2 separate regions of the Homo sapiens genome follow, and region 2 is linked to region 1. The links are contacts of gene promoters, found by promoter capture Hi-C in blood cells and fetal thymus (Javierre and others, 2016). All regions are on one chromosome and are shown on one strand. Each heading gives the region's core, a stretch centred on a gene start or on the middle of the fragment in contact. The rest is flanking DNA. Distances are from core to core; before and after follow the strand shown. Region 1 holds the start of COPS9 (COP9 signalosome subunit 9). Region 2 overlaps HDAC4 (histone deacetylase 4).

Evidence for each region. The method cuts DNA at HindIII sites, captures the fragments that hold promoters and counts their contacts. A CHiCAGO score of 5 or more calls a contact.
Region 2: a fragment that was not itself captured here is called in contact with the fragment with the promoter of COPS9 in region 1 in 1 of 17 cell types (non-activated CD4 T cells); the score reaches 5.7 in non-activated CD4 T cells.

What each region holds. Positions count from the first base shown.
Region 1 is chr2:240,134,479-240,139,323 of GRCh38, reverse strand. It overlaps COPS9 (COP9 signalosome subunit 9), which reads left to right and starts at 3,019. Exons shown (of 3, transcript NM_001163424.2): 1 at 3,019-3,102. The coding sequence starts at 3,040. OTOS (otospiralin) reads left to right here. Exons shown (of 4, transcript NM_148961.4): 4 at 1-298. The coding sequence ends at 154. RefSeq lists enhancers at 2,498-2,607, 2,618-2,717 and a silencer at 3,158-3,207. The HindIII fragment of the contact is 4,227 bases long and covers 1-3,856 here.
Region 2 is chr2:239,137,304-239,141,804 of GRCh38, reverse strand. HDAC4 (histone deacetylase 4) reads left to right here. Exons shown (of 27, transcript NM_001378414.1): 9 at 2,009-2,121. Among named protein-coding and RNA genes, the nearest start is that of MIR4441, 54 kb to the right of the region's middle. The HindIII fragment of the contact is 407 bases long and covers 1,216-1,622 here.

The DNA of each region.
Region 1 (4,845 bases), core at 1,770-4,269:
CTGGCCTTTCTCCACCTCTGACTTCTGGAACTATGTGCAGCACTTCCAGGCCCTGGGGGCCTACCCCCAGATCGAGGACATGGCCCGAACCTTCTTTGCCCACTTCCCCCTGGGGAGCACGCTGGGCTTCCACGTTCCCTATCAGGAGGACTGAATGGTGTCCAGCCTGGTGCCCGCCCACCCCGCCAGGCTGCACTCGGTCGGGCCTCCACAGGCATGGAGTCCCCGCAAAAACCTGGCCCCTGCAGGAGTCAGGCCTGGTCTCACGCTCAATAAACTCCGGACTGAAGATGCACAACCAGCGTTGTGGGTTGTCTTTCAAGGACAGCTGCGCTCAGGCCCCACTTACTTTATTTCACAAATGAAGCTGGTTTTATTTTGATTCCTGGGGAGCACTTTCATAAACTCTTTCATAAATGTGCAACATTTCCATCCACATTGGCATCAACAAGGGATTTTATATCCTGGGCAGGCTCAGGACTGGCTTTCTGTGTCTCTCACTCATCCATTTCCCACAATGATCCTAGGGGGCACTGCAGTTCCCCCAGATTACGGGTGAGGAAACTGAGGCAGAGACATGCGGTCACAGCCTGACTTGTTAAGGTCACACAGCTGGTTAGGGGGTAGCTAGATTCTAGTCCAGGCACCCCCGCTCTGGGCCACTAAGCTGGGCAGCACACAAACCCACAGTCAGGGCTAGGCTGACTCCACACCATGACACACCCCTGGGAGCAGTGCCCAGGAGGCAGCAGGAAACGGAACTGAGAAACCCCACCTGTATCTGTCATCGGTCAGGGACAGCGGGGCCTGGGCAGGCTCTGTCTTCCAGGGACGGCTCTAGGCTTTGAGGATGCTGGGAGGAAGGGGGCTTCACCTGGGGCACTGGAAGACTGGGCAGGCAGCACGATGGTGTCTCAGGGATGGGCCTCCAGCAATAGGATGGCCTCTGCACAGGTGGTGAGCCCCCCATCCCTGTAGGGTGTACAAGCAGACCGTGGAGACCCACAGCTCCACCCCTTAGCTAGTAAAGACCTTGACTTAATGGGTCAATCTTCTTAGTCACTGCCAAGCCCCTGTTCCATCGGACTGACTTTCACTTGGGTCCTTCAGGGTGATGCACATTGGCATGGCATGAGGCTCACCCAATATCCACTGCCAGCTTCTCCCTGCGTCCCACACTGTCCACTCAGGCCAGGCGGCCCCTTTTCAGGCCACACACACCCCTCACATTTCAGCTCAATTCCTGTCCCTGGAACTACCCTCATCCATGCCGCCCCCCACTCCCCTTCTCTACAGCCTAACCCCCAAACCCAACTCCTCTAAGGCCTGTTAAAGGAAAACATTATTGGAAATTTTCAGAAGTTGTTCCGAACCCTGGAGACGGGTGTGGGGACCACTGCAACGGGATCTTGCAGTGGGGGAGGGAGACCAGGCTCAGCTCCGAACAGCACAGGCAGTGGGGGTTTGCGGCTGAGGAGCAGGTGGGGTCGCGGGTGGCAAATGACTGGGAGGAACACAGTGCGGGACGGGATGCTGGCTCGGCCGACCCCGCAGGGCTTTCGCTGAAGACAGGTCTGGGCCATCAGACATCCTGGGGATGCTGGGGGACCAGGAACCCGATCCAATATCCAGGGTGGGGGGCTCTGGCTAAACCAACTTAGCAGGGCTCTCTGCGAAAACTGAACCTGACAATGCAGTGCACAGATGGGCCTGGGAGGAGGTTAGGAGGCCACCGAAGTCTGGCTGAGCAAGGAATCTTTGGCAAAGTCTAGTTCCAGGACCTGTTGCTCTCTCTCCTTCCCTCCCCTGTTCTTCCTCTCTCCCTCTCTTCCTCCAACCTTCTCCCTCCTCTTACCCCTTTCCTTCTCCTTTCCCTCGCATTTCTGTCACATTCTTTTTTGTTGTTTTTTTCATTACGGTAAAACTTCACAAATTGTTTCCATCTTAACCACATTTCAGTGACGTTAAGCACATTCACGAACTGTGCAGCCATCACCAGCAGCCTCTACAGATCCTTTTCATCTGTCAAGGCTGAAAATCTGTCCCCACTAAACACGAACTCCCCATTTCCCCTTCCCCAGACCCTGATAACCCCCTTCTACTTTCTGTCTCTATGACTTTGACTCCTCTAGGGGCCTCGGCTGAGTGGAATCATGCGGTGTTTGTCTTAGGACTGGCCCGTTTCCCTCGGCAGAGCGTCCTCAATGTTCCTGCGCGTGGCAGCAGGTGTCGGCATTCCCTTCCTTTTAAAGGCTGAGTAATGTTCCACAGTGTGCATGGCCCACATTTGCTTATGCACGTATCCATCGATGGGCAGGGACAGCGGGGGACGCTTCCCTTTTTCATTTATTATAAATAACGCTGCTGTGAACGTGGGGTAAAGACGCCCCTTGGAGCCTCGGCTTTTGGTCCTCTGGGCTTGTGCCCGGAAGGGGAGTGCTGGGCCACGTGGGTGTCCGTGTTTGATTTTCTGGGACCTGCCCCCCCCCGTCTCCCGCCCCGGCTGCCGCGTCTCACTCCCCGCCGCGGTGCGAGGGGCCCCGTGTGCCGCGCACCCTTCCACCCGTGTTTTGCTGTTTTTTTGACTCTGGGCGTCCCAGGGGTGCAGCGGCCGTGGGGCCCTGGTTTGCTTTCACCTCTTCATCTGCTCACTGGCCGCGAGTGTGTCTTCTTCAGACAAACGTCTGAAGGTCAAGCCCTGGGCTCCTGTGAACCCGGCCGTCTTTGCGGCAGAGTCTGAGGCTCCTTCTTTATTCTGGATCCGGCCTCTGGTCGGAGGCGTGCTCTGCAGGCACTGCTCCCATTGCTGGCAGCCTTTTCTCCCCGTGGCCGCCCGGCCGCCCATCAGAGGCGTTGCAGACGCCCGCCCTCGCCAGCGCAAAGACAAACGCCGGTGGCCGCGGACGCGCCGGCGGCCGGGAGCACCCCAGCGGGCGGGCACCACAGAGGCGCGGTCCTCCGGCGTCTAGATCTGCCATGTGGCGCGCGCCGGAAGCGGCTCTGAGGCCGGAAGTGAGCCTAGAGCGCCGCGGCCCCGAGATGAAGCCGGCGGTGGACGAGATGTTCCCCGAGGGCGCCGGGCCCTACGTGGACCTGGACGAGGTGGCACGGGCCCGGCGGGAGTCTCCGAGCGTGGGGAGCGGGGAAGGGGGAGCGGAAGGGCGGCGTCCTGGTGCGCGGGTCCCGGGGAGGGGAGGCCGGGCGGGTGGGCGATGGGCGCGGCTCCCAGGCTCCCTGCCCCGCGGAGAGCAAATCCCGGTTTCTCCGAGCACCTGGTGAAAGGCGGCGACCGACCGCGGCGGGAAGCGTGTGCCCTAGCCCGGGGGACCAGGAGGCGCAGCCTGAGGGTTGAGTGCCTGCTGGGTGCCCCCACGGCCCCCGGGAACACACCCGTGGTCAGAGGAGTTGCGTTTGCTGCTCTTCGATGGCTGCAGCACCCCATGGGGGCCCGCGGTGCGTCTCCATAACCTCGTGTGGGATTTGAGCTCGTGTTAGGGGATTTGGGGGAAGAAAGTGGGCTTTACTGTGCCTTGGAAGCGAGGATAATTCTCCGATTGGGCCTCTTAATCTTAACTAGAATGAGGGAAGACTGGAGCAGCCGTCATTCCTGTCGGAGCGGAAAAGGAGACATCTGGCATTTATGTGCTTTGCGTAGTGGCCTCGTTCTTCTTTTTAATTATACAGGATTATACAGTCGTCTTGGGGTTTTGTTGGTCTCTATTGTGTTCACAGAGTGACCTTGTCTGATGTGAGCGTTCTGAGATGGTTTATGGTCAGCAGGAGAGCACCACAGCCTAGCTCAGAGTGGCAGGCCAGCTCCTACATGTCAGGGCCTTATGTGCTCTTTCTCAAAGCTTAGGGGCTGCAGAGGTGGTCAGAGGCAGCCCTTGTGCTTGTGGAGGTAATAGCATGGCAGAGCGGCTGATTGCAAATACCAGGTGTCATAGAAAGCCGAAGGCGCACCGACGGATGGACCCTCAGGGCTTTGAGGGGGCTCAGCAAAGGTACAGCTGAGGAGTCGACTCTGTGGCCAAATGCTGGGGGACACATTGGTGTTTGCCAGGTAGTGGGGGATGAAGGCCCGGCAGGAGCAGAGCCCTGGGTTGGGGGATGCCGACTGGCTCACCAAGGGAAGGGAATGTTGTGTCGTTTAACATGGTTGAGCGTGCAGTGCCAGAGAGAGGGGAGACAGTGGGTAGGGACTCTCTCCCTACCCAGATCGTGAAACCATCTGGAACCATGCTAAAGAGGGTGGCTCTGTGCACCCCGCTCCCGAAGCACTTCCATTAAACCCAGGCTTCTCAGTCCTGTTTTACAGTCCTAGGCTTCACAGTCCTAGGCGATGTGGAGCCACCGGAGGGCTTTACAGTGGGGAGTGAGAGGCTCCGACTTGCTCTGTAGGGTGGCAGCATTTACGGGTGAGAGGGTAGAAAAATGAGAGCAGGGAGAACAGGAGAGTTGAAGAGGGTGTGAATGAGGCAGATGGAGGTAGGGACAAGCTTCAAGTGGTAGAATGCGCGTGGCTTACTGTGCTGATGGGGACAGGGAGGGTGGCTGAGAAGCCAGGGGAGGAGACTGAGTGTCCTGGCTTTTCTGAGAGTGTCTGAAAGGGAACAAGGGCATGCAGCTATGTGGGGATCAGGGCAGGTCTGAGCAAGCGGCCTTGTGAATGCTGGGGCCAGGGCAGCAGCAGGACCTGTGGCCAGCTGTCCAGGGTGCTGCTGTCAGAGGAATCTGCTCCCTCTGTCACCGGTTGACTCTAAACAGGACCCAAAATCCTGAGGGCTTCAGATTGCCCAGCTTGGGTTGTGACATGGTTTTTCCACTGCCGTGGAGTTGTGGCAG
Region 2 (4,501 bases), core at 170-2,669, 1.0 Mb after region 1:
TATAATTTTTACCGCCCCAAAAAGTTGTCCGGACTCCCCAGGCACATGCGTGAGGGTATTTATCTGACGACACAGCTGGGAGGCACCCATTACAGGGAAGATCTGCTGGATCTTGGTGTGTAGCTGGAGACAGCTTGACATCAGAGAGCAGGGGTCTAGGGTGGGCTACGGTGGGCTGCAGGTGGGGCAGAGATGGGAGAGTTGGAGGGGCCTGGAGAAGGCGGGTCCTGCTTTCTTGAGTGAAATGCAAACACTGGCTCAGCCCAGGTGGCATTCTCAGAATGCCCACTCACAGTGCAAATAACATGGCCTCGGCAGCGGGAGAAGCCTACCTCTGGAGTTAGTGTCTGGTGGAAGTGAGAGGGTGAGAGGGCCAGGGAAAGAAAGAGGATGGGGTAGGGTCGGGACCCAGTCCTGTATTCATGCTCAATGCCCAGGACAGTGAGCTGACCCCACACTCTTTTGAGCTCCAAGAGCCATGGGGAGCGGCTGGTGTAGGGCTTCTGGGTGGACACCCTGGTTTGCCCTTGGGAGGTTTAGACTGCCCTGCTGTTGAGGGCAAGATGTTCCCAGGGTGTTCCTGGTGGGCAGCGTGGTCAACAGAGGAGGTGCGCCTTCACCACCCAGCTGGGTTAACTCTGGTATGCAGACGCCCATGACAGTTCCCTCAAGCCACGTGGCCTGGGACGAGTGATGTTGCTGCTCCATGCCTCCATCTCCTCTTCTGGGAAACGGGGTCATAATGGCACCTTCCTCAAACAGTGACTGAGAGATGGATGAGCTAATAAAGGCAAAGTTTGGAATCAGGTCTGCCAGGTTGGGGGAGCTGTGGGTGGCTTTACCTGTTCCCCCACCCTCCTCATCCTCCTCACTGTGGCTCGGGGCTATATTTGCAGAGTCACCACCTCCAGCAGGCGTGGATACCACGTGAGTCAGCATGAGTGGGCACCTGCGTCCTCGTGGGCTCCAGGAGGACGCGGGCAGCAAGCAGACCGTGGAGGAGGCTTTGCTGGGGATGGCTCCGTTGAGGGGCTGCTTGGGGAAAACATCCCTTAACCTCCCCTCCAGGGCCCCCACCATGTCCCTTCCTTCTGACCTGTATGCGCTGCGCATATAGGTTGGGGCGAGGTTCTGAGCACCCAGAGTCGTTGCTGAACAGCAGACGCCTAGAGTTCTCGAGGCAAATGGGTCACATTGTGTTTTCTTTGGAAAGCTTTAACCAGATGATGCCATTGTTAAAATGCCGTTAAACTAAACATATGACAAGCCAAACAAATCCTTGTGTGAATATCGAGAGCCTCAGCGGCCTCCCACGGTGGATGTGTGTGCCCAAAATAGCAGCAGACCCCTTCAGAGGTGAAGGGATCTTTGGATTGGACGTGGCCCCTTTTGGAAGTCACATTCAGTCAGAGCGGAACCTGGTCTCATTAACCAGGGTCAAGCCGCACCGATGGTTAAAGATCCTCTAAGACTGTCCGAGCGTGTGTTTTCCAGTAGCACGGATAGATCTCAGGAGACACTGGCTATATTTTCCCCTGGATGCTTGCTGCTATGTAGGGAAAATGAGAGGATTCAGCTCAGAGTGAACACTAATAGTAGGTTGCTTTATTTTGAACTAAGCTTTTTATAGTGAGCACAGGAAAGCTGACCTTTTGCTTTTCAAAGTCACTTAGCTTCTGCATTTTCTGGTCTTCTGTTGTTAGGTCACTAATAAGTGTTTAAGGATTTATCTTTTTGGTGTTTAAAATTGTCTTGAAAATCAAACGAGGTATAAAATTGGTAACGTACATGTCCTAGAAAAAGTGAAGTCAGTGGCAAAACTGGAAAATCAGAAATCAGCATCATACTTTCTTTTTTGAAACCATGGCCATGTTCTTTTTGTTGGGACTTCTGCCTGTCGCAAGCTAACGAGCAGGTCCGTGGAAGGCACCGGGCATTCGGGCCACAGGTCAGCACGGCCCTCCCTCCGCATGGAGTAACACTCACCAGGGTATTTCTGCCTCCGCAGACTCCGCGTGCAGCAGCGCCCCAGGCTCCGGACCCAGCTCACCCAACAACAGCTCCGGGAGCGTCAGCGCGGAGAACGGTATCGCGCCCGCCGTCCCCAGCATCCCGGCGGAGGTCAGTGCGAAGCGTTTGTCCTGTGTCCTACGGCTAGAGTCGGACTCGGGACGGATGAGCTTGAAATGACCCCACTTTGCACTTGCCCTTCACTCTTCACCTTCCAATTTGGGGTGAGGGAAAGTGGCCTGTGAGCCATCCTAAAAAGGACGCAGTTGGAGGTTACTCTCCTGCCTTCCTCTCATCACAGACATCTCCTTTCATTATGAACACGCTAGTTCCAGGCACGTCGGGGACAGCCCTGAGCCTGGTCCTTTCTCCTGACCTCTTCCAGAGCAGATGTCACTAGATGGTGTCCCAGCACAAGCCCACGCATGGCAGGTGCTCTAGGTGGACAGGATCCCTGCTGCCCAGCTCGCTGTGGTCGCCAGTGCTCTGAGGGTGGCTGAGAGGCCGTGGGCACGTGGGTATAGTTGCTAAGTGAGACTTAACATTTTTTATTTTGTATTGAGAAATACACAACACGATGTCGGCCAACAAACTATGTGTCAGGGCCGACTGGAGCGTCACCCGTGGTCAGCATGGCAGGGCCGGCCAAAGCCACAGAGCGGGGAACTTTTCCAGGCATCACGGGAACCAGGCATCTCAGACCGCAGAGCTCAGCACCCCTGGTCCCCTGCCTTCATCAGACCCCAAGTGGTGCCACAGTCTGGGAGGGACATTGGCAAGCTAGAGAGGAGTCAGGGGACGCTTGGAGTCCCTAGGTGGGAAAGATGTCAGAGACGCAGGAGCTGAGTGGCAAGGCAGGGAGGAGTGGCGCCCAGGCTGGCCGAGTCGCACACTGACCATACTCGGAGGCTTTCCAGGGCAGCAGGTCCGAGGACCTCGCTCCGTGTTCCTTGAGCTCCTTTGCGCCCCCTGCCTTTATCCCACACGTGTCCCGAGCGCCTTGTGCCAGGCCCAGGGACAGAACCAGGCAGGCAGCAAGGACCTGCCCCACACTCCACACAATGCCCCACTGACAAGGAGAGGCCACCCCCAGAGCACGGGGAAGAAGAGAGAGGCAGAGAGAGGCAGTCCCGCAGGCTGAGTGGTGCCCTGGGCCTGGGTGGGCCTGACTGCAGGGCAGGGGTGGGAGGGGTACGCTTTAGCAGTGAGTTTTCTGATGAGTTGAGCTGGAAATGCTGTGTCTGCTTCATGGGGCAGAGTTCTACTGAGTGGGAGGTTCTTTCTGAATTCTCTCCAACTTACAGAAGGCTATAATTTATTAAATATAGTTATTGACTTTCCTTCTTAAATATTTAGAAATGAATCCTGCCCTTCCAAAGGATTGGCAAATCTTAGCTGGGATACAGAGGCATGAGTGTTTAGCATTTTCATTTCAAATTTCAAGACCGTTTATGTATAAACATTTTTAGAGACTAGAATTACTGCTCAGAACGAATTTTGCCCTTTGTCTCCAGGCTGCTTAATCCCCAATTTCTCTTACTCTTTCTACTTCATACATCGATTTCTTTTATTACCTGTCTTCTTCAGCCTGCCAACTTCAGTACTTATTTAGATGATTAGAAGTTTTAACAGTCCTCTGTATGGCTGTGGTCATAGCTGAGGTCTACCAGTAATAAGCCTTATAATGCAACCTAGAAATTACTTCCTGCCCTGAGGTTAACACTGGTTGCATCTTGTTGATTGTGGTCCTAGATACATGTTTTTATTTAAAATGAGGCACTTATGTACATGGTAGTTAATATTGGAACAGTGCCTTGTTTGGGTGGGTCTGCATCATTCCAGTTCTGTGTTAATTTTTAGAAATCACGATACGTAAATGAAGCTACTGGAAATTAATAGAACATGTAGAAGGAGTTACAGGAAATACCAAGAGGTGCCATTGTTCATGTTCCACATCAGATGTTCATTAGAGTGGGCACGGGCAGCCTTTGCATGTTGGATCACACCCAGGCGCCCTTTCTGGGTTTCAGTATCTCTAGAGTTGGACGGGTCTGTGAGAACACCTGTGCTTCATGGCCAGGGGCTGGCTCTCCGTTCTCACGTGGTGCAGAGTGTAGTGAGCTTGCCCGTCAGAGGGGGTGTCTCGAGTGGATGAGGATGTGGGGGGAGCAGGGGCCTCCCAGCCTGGCTCTCAGCACTGCCTTTTCTGTTCACCCTGGGGTCCCTAGAAACACTACTGTACCTTGAAGGCCCCCTGGACCCAGGGAAGCCCAGTGTGCCGGGCACCTCCTCCTCTACAGTGCCAGGGAGGCCCAGAGTGCCGGCACCTCCTCCTCTACAGGCCAGGGAAGCCCAGTGTGCCGGCACCTCCTCTACAGGGAGGAGGCAGGGCTCAGAGAGTGAGAGGAAGTCGCCCAGGTGCGTAAGGGGACAGCTCCTCTGTGGCCGCTGCTGCTGTTATTTACACGCGTGCCTGGATGCTCTGACCTCA